Regions from separate parts of the Homo sapiens genome. Here regions 1, 3 and 4 are each linked to region 2. The links are contacts of gene promoters, found by promoter capture Hi-C in human tissues and cell types (Jung and others, 2019). All regions are on one chromosome and are shown on one strand. The core of a region is centred on a gene start or on the middle of the fragment in contact, and the rest is flanking DNA. Distances in the headings are between cores, read along the strand shown. Region 1 overlaps ZHX2-AS1 (ZHX2 antisense RNA 2). Region 2 holds the start of C8orf76 (chromosome 8 open reading frame 76). Region 3 overlaps ANXA13 (annexin A13). Region 4 has its middle 36 kb from the start of ZHX2-AS1.

Region 1 (3,399 bases), core at 258-2,757, 460 kb before region 2:
CTCACCTAGGTCTGTAGGGGTGGAGCCCTGGCCAGGGACCCACATTTCTCTACCCAGCACTCCAGTATCACTATCAGGAAGGCCCCACCTTCATGATCTAATCACCTCCCAAAGGCCCCGCCCACTTCCTAATATGATCACATTGAGGATTAGGATTTCAACATATGAATTGGGGGGCAAGGGAGCACAAACATTCAGCCCTTCAACCCGTGGCACTGATTCTTATGCTCTCAGAGGGAGCAACATTGTAATAGATTCATACATGAAGAACTGTGACAGGCAGCCAGGTGTCAGCAGTGTGAAACATGTACCGCTTAAGTAGCATGTGTGGCCATGAGATGGTTTTAAATGATGTCCAGGTACAGCACAAAATAGCTCTGACTCAGAGAAAGTTACAACTTTCAATTCTCTTCCCATCCTTTTAATTAGCTCAAGAAAAAATTCTCAGTTTGGTGCTACCCTGTCTCTAATAACCTTCTAACACCTTTCCCCTCCATCTCTACCTTCTGCAAATAAGAGTATCTAGCTAGCTCAATAGTGCTGTTTTTTTTTTCCCATGGTTATTTTCACTGTTACCTTTCATTGGTTCATTTGAAAATTCAATATTGGATTTTCTTGTTTCTATTGTGACAAAAGGCTTCTTTAGTATTAGTATGAAATAAGTGCATTTAAGTTTTAAAAATGTGAATCAATGTAAATAAAATGTTTTCTTTTTTTTTTTTTTTTTTTTTTTTTTTGAGACAGAGTCTAGCTTTGTCACCAGGCTGGAAGTGGTACAATCTTGGCTCACTGTAACCTCTGCCTCCCCGGTTCAAGCGATTCTCCTGCCTCAGCCTCCTGAGTAGCTGGGATTACAGGCACTCACCACCACACCTGGCTAATTTTTTTTTGTTTTTAGTAGAGATGGGGTTTCACCATGTTGGCCAGGCTGGTCTCAAACTCCTGACCTCAAATGATCCACCTGCCTCAGCCTCCCAAAGTGCTGGGATTGCAGGTGTGAGCCATGACCCTGGCCAAATAAAATGTTAAATTAAAAATACTATAGGTAGTTCCTTTGCTACTGGGACAAAATTGGTGAAGGGGGTTTGCACATGAGTTAATTTGCAAGTCACAAGTATAGTGGGAAGCAGGCAGGATTTGTAATCAATCAAATGTGGGCTCAAGACCTGCTTCTAACTTATCAGCTGTATGGCCCATGGATAATTCATAAGCTTCTATAAACTTGTTTTCTCCCACAAATTAAGGAGACAATATACTATTCAGAAGGTTGTTTAAAAGATTAAATTACATAAAGTATAAGAAGCACCTCCCAGGCAGCCATGTACATGGTGGGCACTTGCACTCCCTATCACAGTGTATATCCTTAAATAATGGAAACCTCTGTTTTTGGCAACACCAAACAGGAACTTAACTCCAGTACCTACTGAGTATCTATGCTTGATAAATGAGTTCTTATTTGCTTAGGATCTGGGACCTGTGGCGCGGGATCCTTCATGAGCAACAACTAAAATCAAGAAAAGCTTTGATTTGGAGAGTGGGCCAGCTCAGGCATCATGGACCAAGAGGCCTCTCTACCCCTTGTCCTGGCCTCCAATATTTCACAATGCTACCTATACCCTGCAGAGTTCAGGGGGAAGTAGATCTGAAATATTCAGATATATGTGCAAATAAAGACACGGATAATAACTCCCATTTTATTTATCTATCACTGTGTAATAAACCACCCCAAAAGTTAATAATGTTAAACAACTACAGTCTTATGATCATCTCATTATTCTGTGGGTTGACTAGGTGGAGCTGGATGGTTTTCCTCTACATAATGTCAGGTGAGACTAGAGTCAAGTGGGAGATCGATTAGGCTGGAGCATCCAAGATGGCTAAAGTCTGTGTATTAATCAGGATCTCAGGTGGAGCTATTGTCCCTATCACCTTTGTTTTCACTCCATGTGGCCTCTCCATGAAACTTCGGCTTCTCACAGCATGGCAGCAGGACCCTAAAAGGAAGGAAACAGAAACTGCCAGTCTCTTAAGACTTGGATTTAGATGTCTCAGAATATCACTTTCATTGCATCCAAAGCAATCACAGGACCAGTCCAGATTCCAAGGGAGGGGAAGTAAACTCCACCTCTTAATGGTGATGTATTTTTCAAAAAAGGAAGGAAAGGATTGAAAAAAGCCATCTTAGAAGACTACCACACCTCCTAAAGCTTTCACTTTTTGCAAAAGGTTTTTATTCTTGAAATGTGTGTATATTTCAACTAAGCAAATATGTACCTAGGAATTTATCCTAAGGAAGTAATCGCAGATGATTCAAAAGATCTGACACAAGGTTGTTCATTGGAATAAAATTGAAACTACCCAATGCCCAACAACAGGGGACCAATTAAGTCCAAAGGTGGTTGAGGACAGTGTTTTAAAAGTCTATTCTCTGGGAAGCAGGTAAAATTAAGCTTAAATTCCAACTCCATTACTTAGCATCTGTGTGATGTCGAGCAAGGTACAGTACTTAAGCTCTTTAAGTCTCAGTTTCTATATCGGTAAAATAAAGACAAAATATAGATTTTTGTGATGATTCAATGAGATGATACATATAAAAGGCTCAGCACATGGTAAATGATCAATAATTGTGAACTGCTATTATTATTTATGATAGTCCTTAGTGCTATCATATTAGTGCAAATCTTTCCCATTCTCTCCATTTCCAGGCACACAATACTTCCATGGATCTTTACAGTTAACTTTGTGTTTAGTTCTGACCAATGAGTTGTAAGTGAAAGTGGCATACGTTACTTCCTGGCTGAACATTTACTTGTCCAACATTATTGATTCTGAAGCTCCTAAATACTGTCAGATAACGGTCTGTCTACTCCATGAGTATACTTCAAGCAAACAGGGATCATACCACATAAAGCAAAAGCCACCTTTGTCTTATTCCTCATTGTTTTCTCTTTATATGGTGCAAGTTCAGTCCATGCTAAACTCTGAACAATTTTAAAACACTGCAACACATCAGAAGCCCCTCATCCTTGCTAGTGTCCATGAGATCCAAGTGCTCTGAAGATATGAGAACCCAGCAGACTGTTTAGAGGGTTACCTGGCTTCCCTCCCACCTGGCCCATTCCACCCTACATACAATCTGTCACCCAGCCAGAAGCAGGTGGCAGTGAGGTGGCAGCAAGGGAAACTTGGCTTATAGAAAACCCTCCTAAGTGATTGATCATCCAGAGGAGGTGCAGCCTCAAAATAGGAATAGCTTCGTTAAGGTTTGGGTAATTTCCATGGAAACAGACAGAACTAGACTTATTTTAAAGGGGGGGGGGGCAGGGCGTGGAATAGCCTGCAAGGGGCATAATAAGGTAAGCGATGTAAAAATGTTGAAGTTGGTGTGGCCGGCGGGAC
Region 2 (3,662 bases), core at 143-2,642:
CAAAAAAAAAAAAAAGAAAAGAAAAAAATCACTTCATTTTAGAATTTATATTAAATTCTATGCACCTGTACAGCACATCAGATCTGACAAAGTATTTTCATATACATTATCTCATTTCACTCCCACGATAACTCTGTGAGCCAGCATGTATTATTTTTCTGAAGGGACAAATAAGGAGCTGACACCTTCAAGGCAAGTGGTTAAAGCCAACACTGGAATTCAAGAGTCCTATCTCATAACCAGAGTTTTTTTAATGTTCTGCCACATGATTTCCAAGCCCAATCCCTGTTTTGAGTCTACATGATCCAGGGCTGAAGGTAACTTTGAAAGATCGTATGTGATAAGGAGAAAATGCAACTGAAATAACCAAAAACACAATTCAGTAATTATCGAGTGCCTGGCATCTTGTCAGTACAATTGTGAGGAACGAATGAGACAGTATATGCGAAGGAACCCACCACAGTGCCCGGAACACTTCCGTATTTTCCATAAATATTAGTTTTGACTGATGAACTATTTACACTCATGAAAGAATAGGAAGTAATACTCTACTAATTCAAAAATATTCGCGGAGTCACTATTATTAATAAAAACTGTTAGGCACTGCCAAGGGCATCAAGAACCCATGCTGGTGCGATCATTTAGCACTCCGGGTCTCAGGACTTTGTGGGAATACTGACAAGTGCTTTAAGTAGAAGCTAAATAGAGGGAAGGGGGCCAAAGACAAAAATATTTGGCTGGAAGACGAAATCAGAAAAGACTTCCTAGAGGAGATGACATTTAAGATGTGCCTTGAAAAACGGATATAACTGAAGGACTTTAACCATCAGCGCGGGGTTGGTACGGGCAGGGGGAGCTCGCCGAAGAGGGAGGGGAGAGTGGGTTTGCCGGAGGTCACCGTTTTGGGAGGCCTGACTGCCCAGCTGTAAGAGCAGTGAAGACAAACGGGAGGTACCGGAGATTGCAGGGCAGGGGCGTTGAGACCAGCCGGCAGCAGCCAGGCCGGCCAAATGCCAAGTGGGAGTCAAGCCGCTTACAACGCGGGGATTCTCGCCCATGGACCCGGAATGGGGCCTGGGAAAGCCGCTTCCCCGTGGAGGAGGAGGGACGGCGGGGGACGCGGCGGGCGCTGGAGCCTGCCAGGGTTTGCGTTCGCGCGGACGGAGGGGCCGAGGCCGGGGCCGGGGCCCCGCGGAGGGCGAGGCCTGGGGCCCGGGATAAGGCGAAGAGGCCCCAGCTTCTCACCTGCGGCTCGCAGAGCTTGGCGCAGTAGGACGCGGGCGGTCCTGACCGCCGCTCCGGCCTCTCCTCGAACACCGAGTCCTCGAACTCGCCGCCGAACAACCAGCACCCGGAATCCATCTCGCGCCCGCGGCGGGGGCAACGAGGAAGCGGGGCCCGCCGGAAAAGGCGGGGCTTCCACGGCCCAGAGCGCGGCACGCTGGGACTTGTAGTCTTTGAGGGCGACGCGGGGACGTGGCCGCTGCTGGTTGGGAGTAGTGGTTGAGCTGAGATGATTATCTGACCCACTAACTGACCGAACCCCAGGACGGAGGTTTTGACTTCTCTGTGTCAGGAGATGGACAGAATGATCCTTACCTGCACGCATCAAAAAGCACGCTGGCCCCAGAGTAGCTGTTTAAAACTCGCAGGTACCTTTTTAAAAATTAAAATAAGAGGCCGGGCGCGGTGGCTCAAGCCTGTAATCCCAGCACTTTGGGAGGCCAAGGTGGGCGGATCACTTGAGGTCGGGAGTTCGAGACCAGCCTGACCAACATTGAGTAACCAGGTCTGTACTGAAAATACAAAAATTAGCCGGCCGTAGTGGCGCGCGCCTGTAATCCCAGCTACTCGGTAGGCTGAGGCAGGAGAATCGCTTGAACCCGGGAGGCGGAGGTTGCGGTGAGCCAAGATCGCATCATTGCACTCCAGCCTAGGCAACAAGAGTGAAACTTCGTCTCAAAATAAAAAATAAAATAAAATAAAATAAATAAAATAATTTCGAGACAGGGTCTCGCTCTGTCGCCCAGGTTGGAGTGCAGTGGTGAGATCATGGCTCACTGCAGCCTCGAACTCCCAGACTCAACCTATCATCCCGCCTCAGTCCCCCAAGTAGCTGGGGCTACAGGCGCGCGCCACCATGACCGTCTAACTTGTGTATTTTTTGTGGAGACTGGGTTTCCCTACGTTGCCCAGGCTGGTCTCGAACCTGATCTCAAGCGATCCGCCCACCTCGTTCTCCCAAAGTGCTGGGATTATAGGCGTGAGCCACTAAGCCCGGTGCAAGTACCAATTGTCAACCACTGTGCATTCCCGTCACTGTGTTAAGCACATTTTTTCTTTTCGGCTAACAACCACCTTATGAAAGCCAAAGTGATTCCCATTTTGCAAATCCTATTTTGAAGATATTGGAGTTTGGAGAGGTTAAGTAACTTGTTAAGTTTCGGTCATTATGTGGCTGAAACTTGGGAAATACAGAAATGAATGCGTACTCTCCGTGCTTCCGGACAAGAGACACTACCACCAATAACAAAGACCGGAGTCATTCACGCATTTATGAAAGAAAAGACACAGAAATATACCGTGGGAGGCTAGATCAGGGAGCATTCATTCGACCTGGAGAACACCAAATCTCAAAATTCTAAGACTAACATTTACTACAATTCTTATACTTTTAAGATATTTCTTGACTCTAGAAAGTAAAGATTGTTGACAAAATGCTGGCCAATACTGTACAGCACAATATTGTGCCATATTACACAGTAGGAAATAAACATAAAGGTTTTCCCCGATTTTTTTCCTGTTCCTCTTCACTCTCACCAGTTTCTCTTCCACCATTTATCTGTCTTCCAGGTTTCTTTTTTAAAATTTTATCTGTTTATTTATTTCTGAGACAGGGTCTCGCTCTGTCGCCCAGGCTGGGGTGCAGAGGCGCAATTTCGGCTCACTGCGTCCTCAACCTCCTTGGCTCAAGCCATCCTCCCACCTCAGCCTCCCGCGGGCCACCACACACTGCTACTTTTTTGTATTTTCAGTAGAGAGGGGTTCTTTCATGTTGACCAGGTTCAGCGTTCTTTCTTCAACCCAACTTTTTCCTCCACAAACTCACCTAATCCACTCCCCCAGGTTTCAGAATCCATCTCTCTGCTAATTATTGCCAAAATCTAGAACCAGCTCATTTATCCAGCAGCCTCAGGTGGGAGGCTCCAGCTGAACAGCCTCCAGGCATTAGTTACTGATGAATGAATTCATCAAGATCCACTTAAGAACATTTTTCTGGCCGGGAGTGGTGGCTCACGCCTGTAATCCCAGCACTTTGGGAGGCCAAGGCTGGTGGATCACCTGAGGTCGGGAGTTCGAGACCAGCCTGGCCAACATGGAGAAACCCCATCTCTACTAAAAATACAAAATTAGCAGTGTGTGGTGGTGCATGCCTGTAATCCCAGCTACTTGGGAGGCTGAGGCAGGAGAATCCCGTGAACTTGGGGGGCGGAGGTTGCGGGAGCTGAGATCACACCATTGCACTCCAGCCTGGGCAACAAGAGCGAAACTCCGCCTCAAAAAAAAAAAAATTTTTTTTTCTGCTGAAACGGTCAGGAAGTGTTAGGGTGCTTATGGATAAAAGGTAGTTATTTGCCCTTTAGACTCAGGATTCCTGGGCT
Region 3 (3,228 bases), core at 456-2,955, 490 kb after region 2:
ATAGTGGATCTTTCACACTCGTCTAATCCAGGGGTTGGCAAACTGCAGACTGAGGACCATATCTGGCCCATTACTTATTTTTGTAAATAAAGTTTTATTGGAACACAGCCAACCCATTCATTTACATTTGGCCTATGGCTTCTTTCACGCTACAATGGCAGAGTAGTTACCTACTTGCACCAGAGGTTCTGTGGCCCACAAAGCCTCATTATTTACTTTGTGGACTCCCACTGTATCCCATGTGGACCATGTAAACAGGTCCTTTTTTAGTCAGAGGATAGGACCTTACCCTTCAGCTGGCAACATCAAATTTAGTTAGAATTTAATACATTCTTTTTGCTTTCATTTAGTTATCTATATTTATGTCAACTGACATTAATTTTCCATTTATGGTATCAGTATAAAATTTCCTTTTAAGATTAATTTATATTAAAAAGTGCGTATTTAAAAATAATTAATAGAATAATTAGTAGAAGAGGTAACCCATATATTTGGCAACAATCATGAAGGTTGTACTTAAATCTGAAGTTTGGGAGACATTGAATGTATCCAATCCCATCATTTACAAATAAAGAAACTGAAGCCTGGTTGTTAAGTCACCTGCTCAGGGTCACCTTATGGAAACATCCATCTCCTATCTCTCTCAGAACAATGTTCTTTTACCTCTAACCGGTTACTCATTTGCACTTTGAAGCCAGTTAGTATGAATGCAAATTATTGTACTTTTAACATTCATGAATTCAGAGCCAGAAAATATCCTGGTGACATTTCCACAGACATGGTTAGTAGAGATTGATGAGCAATTTGAAACAAAATAGAGGGGCCATTCACATCTGAAGCATGAATCTTGGGTGATTAGTGACATATTGGTTTCATTAAGTCATAAAACTACCCAACAGAAAAAAATATATTTGGCAGTATACCCTGTTGGGTATATTTAAGCACAGTTTGAATACGAATATTTGGTATTTCATCATGTAGTTATTGCTGTTTTCATTAGGATTCTCCAGGATCTCACACCGACTAAAAGCAAGCCAATTCCTTCATGCCTAGAACCTCTTCCCACATTAGAAGTTTATTAATCTGCGGGGGTTGATCAGAGAGCTGTTGGGAAAGTGTGTTAGGAAACTTGAGCTCTGCCCACCTTAGTAGGGTGCTGGAATGTTACAGAGTTGTTCATTGCTGTTGATACCTCCTTTCCAAGATGCAGTATTACAGTGACTTACATGATGACTAAGTGTTTGGCTATCACTCTAAAGGGGCAGAAATATTTGTATCATTTAACAACTAAAACTAAAACTAGAAAAACATCCATTTGGATCACAGCTCAACATGATTTGCTTGCATATGTTGACTGTATGTTCTGAAAAATGAGTTCAGTTCTTTAGATTAAAACATGACCTTTCTATTACATTTGGGATTGCTTCCATGTTGGCATTTCAGCACCTTTTAATGAAGATTGGTATAGTTAGGTCATTTTCCAGAAAGACAAGCTTCCTTAGGCTATGCCATCTGGGTTACACGTGTTGATGTGATATTTACTTATCAAAGGTGACTGCAGGGCTGGGTAGGAGTTAGGAGACCTGACTTGAAGGCCCTTCAATATGCTGTGCCTTAAACTGGTGGGCACCATTGTACCTGAAGGTACTGATGGTATCCTCAGGAGTGTAAACAATGTGGGCATCCTGCCATGCACTGAGCTGTGGTATAGGGAGTCCAAGTGGGGTAGCCCTTTTGGGGGCTACACCCAAACAGAGGAGAGGTGAGCCAATCAGCTCCTGAAGGTTCCAGCCTGTGTCTTTCCAGGGGAGCACTGCTCATCTAGGCAGGAAATCCAGCAGCCCAGCAGCCTTTTTACTGAGGGTTTCTGCAGTGAAACCCTTCTCACTCTGGTATAAGAACTACTATTTGATCCAGCAATCTCACTACTGGGTATCTACCTAGAGGAAAAGGAGTCATTATATGAAAAAGATACTTGCACATGCATATTAATAGCAGCACAATTTGCGATTGTAAAAGTGTGGAACCAACCCAAATGCCCATCAATCAATGAGTGGATAAAGAAGCTGTGGTATATATATACAATAGACTACTACTCATCCATAAAAAGGAATGAATTAATGGCATTTGCAGCAACCTGGATGGGATCGGAGAATACTATTCTAAGTGAAGTAACTCAGGAACAGAAAACCAAACATCATATGTTCTCACTCATAAGTGGGAGCTAAGCTATGAGGACGGAAAGGCATAAGAATGATACAATGGATTTTTGGGACTTGGGGGAAAGGGTGGGAGAGGGTAAGGAATAAAAAACTACAAATAGGGTTCAGTGTATACTGCTCGGGTGATGGGTGCACCAAAATCTCACAAATGACCACTGAAGAACTTACTCATGTAACCAAATACCACCTGTTCCCCCAAAACCTACAGAAATAAAGAATTTTTAAAAAAGAAGAAGTTGTTACTCATGGGCTAACAGTTTTGAGAAAAACTGCTGCCTCTTGGCTGCTGCTGTCATCAACAGGAGGATAAGGGTCAATCTTCAGGAGAAGCTGACTTTTCTCTGTTATAAGAGAAGAAATCAGTGTAGGGACATGCCTGGGCCAGAAGGGCAGGAATGGTGATTTCTGGTGGAGATCCAGTGACATAAAGACATTCTGAGGACATCTGCCCTGGAGCCTTGTTTTCCCATTTAAGCGGTGGTTCTCAATAAACCAGGAGCGATTTTTGTCTCCCAGGAGACAATTGGCAATGTCTGGAGACATTTTCAGTTGGCACGAGTAGGGGAGTATTACTGGAATATCTAGTGATAGAGGCCAGGATTCTGCTAAACATCCTTCAGTAATGCACAGAACAGACAGCCCCCCTCCCCCCGCCCACACACACACAAATAATTACCTGGTCCCAAATGTCAGCAGTGCCAAGGACGAATGTGCCAAGGGTCCACAACCCTGGCTGAATGGTTGTAACGATTCTGTCAACGGGTCTCTTTAAAAAGTGTGGAGAAGGCCAAGCCTCTGGTGGTAAACGGCACACAGGTGCTGACTAAAGCAAGGCCTCCAGTCACCAAGGGCAAATTGCTGTGGTAACTTAAAAGGGAAGAATAGAAATGGACCATGATGTCTTACATTCTTTAATTTTTTTGCAAAGAAACCCAGATGACAAATCTGAAAGATGAGTGCTGAGATAAGGTAACTAGGAGGAAGGTGTGAGCTGAGATCAGTTCAA
Region 4 (3,604 bases), core at 14-2,513, 500 kb before region 2:
TACTGGGGTCGTAGTGATTTTCTTATTTTATTAATCTGTATAAGCTCTTTATAAATTGAAGCAGTCATTCCTTTGTATATTGGTGTTGTTAATCAGAGACTTTATCTGCAGTAGTGTATGGAGGAGGTTACAGTGGGGAAAGCCTGGAGAGAAGGCTGTTGGTCCTCTCGGAAGCAATGTAGAACCGGAGCAGGTAGGGAACAAGGGTGCATGCCAAGTGAAGGGGCAAGAGTGGACGTCAAACCAGAAGGAGAATCTGCTGCATCCTAGTGGAGTGTTCTTTGTTCTACCTCACACAGGGTGCAGCCTAGAAGGGGCCTCAGGCAATGAAAGGATTGGCTGCCTGTGGAGTTTTTAGGGGAGAGATATGGACATTTCGAAAATAAATATCTCCTTCATCATTTCCATAAAGCCCTACTCTTCTGGTGGAATTCCACTTACTCAAATTTCAGTTGAGAAAGCCCTTGGTAATGAGAAAATTAGTTAATGTTTTATTATGTGCTGGACCATTAACAAGGGCTTCATGAAGAAGATGAGATTGAATTTGGTCTTGAAGAAGGTAGGATTTGGGTGCATGGGGAAGAGATGAGCACAGCAATCCCAAGAAAAGATTCCTTCATGCTTCTACTAACCACTGTCTTGGCTTAGCACCCTTTCTTAGATAAGTTGTTTTTGGTTTCAAATTAACAAAAATCAAGTGAGTCTAGCTCAGTGAAAAGAGGAGGAAGTGTGGGAGAGATAATGGGTGTCTCACAAACTGTCACCTCAGTTCCAACCACTTGCAAAGACTCTGCTCAAGGTCTCCCTCTTTCAATCCTAGTTCTCAGAAACAGATCTGATTGGCCCACCTGGAGTCACAGGTTCAATCCCAGCCAGTCAACTCTTGCTTAAGGTCTGCATCTCATGGAATCAACCTTGCTGCTTGGGGCAAAAAAAAAAAAAAAAAAAAAGTCAGCATAAGCAAATTCACTGTAACCAAATTCAGTTCTTTCAGGAGGAGAGAGAATACATCCTTGAGGTTCCTTCTGTCCTGGAGCTAAAGATGCAGCTGAAACCTATGACCAATTAGAAACCTTAATTTGGCGTGCAAAATAGAGTTGCCAGAATCAGCAAATAAAAATACCAGATGCCCCATAAAATTTGAATACTTAACCTACAAGCGCTTAGTAAAAGTATGCTCTATGCAATATTCGAGACATACTAAAAAATTCTTCATTGTTTATATGAAATTAAAATTTAATTGGGCATCCTGCATTTTATCTGCCAGCCCTAGTGGAAAGGCCATACTTTTGCAGGACTCTGAATTCTTGACATTTCCAAAATAATAATCATAACTCTGGGAATGTAAATGCCTGAGACAGATGTAGGGGTTTGCAATATGCCAAATTGAGGACACCGAGAGTGAAGCTGGCACCCTGAGAGGGAGAGGTGGATCTGCATAATTATCAGTGAATTAAATTGCTTTGTTGCAGAGAGTCAGCTTATTAAATATGCATTTCAATTTTGGAGTGGTTGGCTGAAGAATTTGAGTATCAACAGATGGGAAATCCCTTGCTGCAGCCATGACCTTTACCTGTCATGCTGGTTCACAGGACCACATGCAAGAAGACATGATTATTATTCTCCCAAGTGTCATTCTCCGGAGGCTTTGGACAGGGAGCATGAGGCTCCCATTGGGCAGGCTGGGCTGGGAATGTGGCAAGCCACATGGCTACCTAGATGGGCACATGGCCTTGTTGGCTTATGCTAATCTTCTCATATGACTTGGCTCTTCCCTCTCTGTGAAAACAACACTGTTCTTAGTGTTTAACAAACTTGAGTCCTGGTCCTGCCGCTGTCTCTCTCAAGCTTTATGAGCTGGAGCAAATCATAAAACCTCTCTGAGCCTCAGTTTCCTCAGTTGTTAATTGGGGATAATATTACCCATCTAACAAGGTCATTGGGTAGAGTCAATGGCTCCCTGCCTATGTAATTGTACCAGTCCCTCAAACTTGCCCTAGTCTCTCTCCTCCTATTGTCTGTGTTCCCAAGGTGAGCCATTTTAATAGTGTCCTCCTAACTACATTAAAAGGCATGCTTTGTTAAGCTCTAACTGTAGAGATTTATTATTCCACTGTCTCCAACTCTGAGCCACCCAGCTTGCTGGCATCAAATCATAAAACTGATCCATGTTAGCCAGCCCCAGCAGGGCTCTCCCTGAGCTCGATCATCCTTTTACTCTTTTCCAACAGGACCATAGCTCAGAGCTTTTTATGGCTAAAACACAATGTGAGGTTTTGTTTGCACATTGCACACATGACCAGGAAGAGGAATAGGTTCATGGGATCTTGCCCTGGAAGCCTTATCTAATCCCTAAGAAGAGAAGTGCTTCAAGAGAAGATGAGAAGACTGCCTTGATGAGGGATTTTCTGAGGCATGGGGGCCCTCATAGCACTGCTTTGGAGCCTAGGTGACAAAGTGTGACTAAGTGTGTGATAGACACTAAGATACACCAGGATCCAGTTCCCAGTCCCCTTGCACTTGAGTGAGTGAGATGCTGTGTGTCATTCCCATACACTTAATTGACCATACAAACCCCTCCAAAATCCTCTTTCCCAGAGAATATCTACAGAGAGGCTAAGCGTTCCAGATGGTGCTGTTCCAGACCAGTGGAGGCTCTGTGACCCTGGCTTGCAAAGTTGTTGCTGAGTTACACGGGATCCACAGCAGGCGTTGCAATCCACACACAGATGTAGGTCTGAAAGTGTCATCAGACTAAAGTTTCCAAAACACACAGTTTACCATTATTATATCCATTGTGCTCTAAGGTTTTCTATTTTATTTCATTTTGCTTTTTTTTATATTCAGGTCAACTCCACTCATAGATTTCATGATATGTGCTGGGACTTCAGACTCCCACTCTACGACTCCCACTCTGCTACTCTCTCTAACAGCACTGACCTGCATTCTGCTGGTCACCCTCTGTAATTTCAGGTCAGTTTATGTTCAATTGTTCAGTGTCCGCTTGTCCATTAGGCTGTGATCTCCACGAGGGCAAGGACCAGGTCTGTGTTGTTTGCTCCTCAGACCCAGCACTGACACTAAATGAGCCCTCCTAAAACCTTGATTGACAGGTTAAAATATATACATCAATGATATTGCTGCAGTGTCTATGAATGTATTAGTTAGGGTTCTCCAGAAAAACAAGAGAGCGAGAGAGAGAGGAGATTGCAAGGAATTGACCTATGTGACTATGTAAGCTGAAAAATCCCAAGATCTGCAGCTGATAAGCCAGAGATCCAAAAGAGCCGATGATGTAAGTTCCAGTCCAAGGGCAGGAGAAGATCGAAGTCACAGCTCAAGCAGTCAGGAAGGAGGAATTCTTTCTTACCTAGGGGAGGGTCAGCCTTTTTGTTCCACTCAGGCTTTTAACTGATTGGATGAGGCCCGCCCACATTAGGGAGGATGACCTGCTTTACTCAGTCTACCAATGTAAATGTTAAGTTCCTCCAAAACCACCGTCACAGACACACCAAGGATAATGTTTAAACAAATATCTGGGCACCCTGTGACCCAGTCAAGTTGACCATTAACCATCACAGTGGACAATGTTAAACTTTCTATT

Evidence for each region. The method cuts DNA at HindIII sites, captures the fragments that hold promoters and counts their contacts. A contact is called where the count stands out against the background at its distance.
Region 1: a fragment that was not itself captured here is called in contact with the fragment with the promoter of C8orf76 in region 2 in 2 of the 25 tissues and cell types used here (dorsolateral prefrontal cortex and spleen).
Region 3: a fragment that was not itself captured here is called in contact with the fragment with the promoter of C8orf76 in region 2 in 2 of the 25 tissues and cell types used here (IMR-90 fibroblasts and lymphoblastoid cells).
Region 4: a contact is called between a fragment that was not itself captured here and the fragment with the promoter of C8orf76 in region 2, in 1 of the 25 tissues and cell types used here (mesenchymal stem cells).

Annotation. Positions count from the first base shown.
Region 1 is chr8:122,776,204-122,779,602 of GRCh38, forward strand. It overlaps ZHX2-AS1 (ZHX2 antisense RNA 2), which reads right to left. Exons shown (of 2, transcript XR_007061082.1): 2 at 1,681-1,994. Among named protein-coding and RNA genes, the nearest start is that of ZHX2-AS1, 3.7 kb to the right of the region's middle. The HindIII fragment of the contact is 3,632 bases long and covers 1-3,323 here.
Region 2 is chr8:123,239,985-123,243,646 of GRCh38, forward strand. C8orf76 (chromosome 8 open reading frame 76) reads right to left here and starts at 1,393. Exons shown (of 6, transcript NM_032847.3): 1 at 1,246-1,393. The coding sequence starts at 1,362. The region is part of intron 2 of ZHX1-C8orf76 (ZHX1-C8orf76 readthrough); the gene reads right to left. RefSeq lists an enhancer at 1,179-1,679 and a silencer at 1,180-1,299. The HindIII fragment of the contact is 18,562 bases long and covers 1-3,662 here.
Region 3 is chr8:123,724,771-123,727,998 of GRCh38, forward strand. The region is part of intron 1 of ANXA13 (annexin A13); the gene reads right to left. All of the region lies in intron 1 of LOC105375739 (a long non-coding RNA gene), which reads left to right. Among named protein-coding and RNA genes, the nearest start is that of ANXA13, 11 kb to the right of the region's middle. The HindIII fragment of the contact is 8,461 bases long and covers 1-3,228 here.
Region 4 is chr8:122,743,575-122,747,178 of GRCh38, forward strand. No RefSeq gene overlaps it. Among named protein-coding and RNA genes, the nearest start is that of ZHX2-AS1, 36 kb to the right of the region's middle. The HindIII fragment of the contact is 3,392 bases long and covers 1-2,959 here.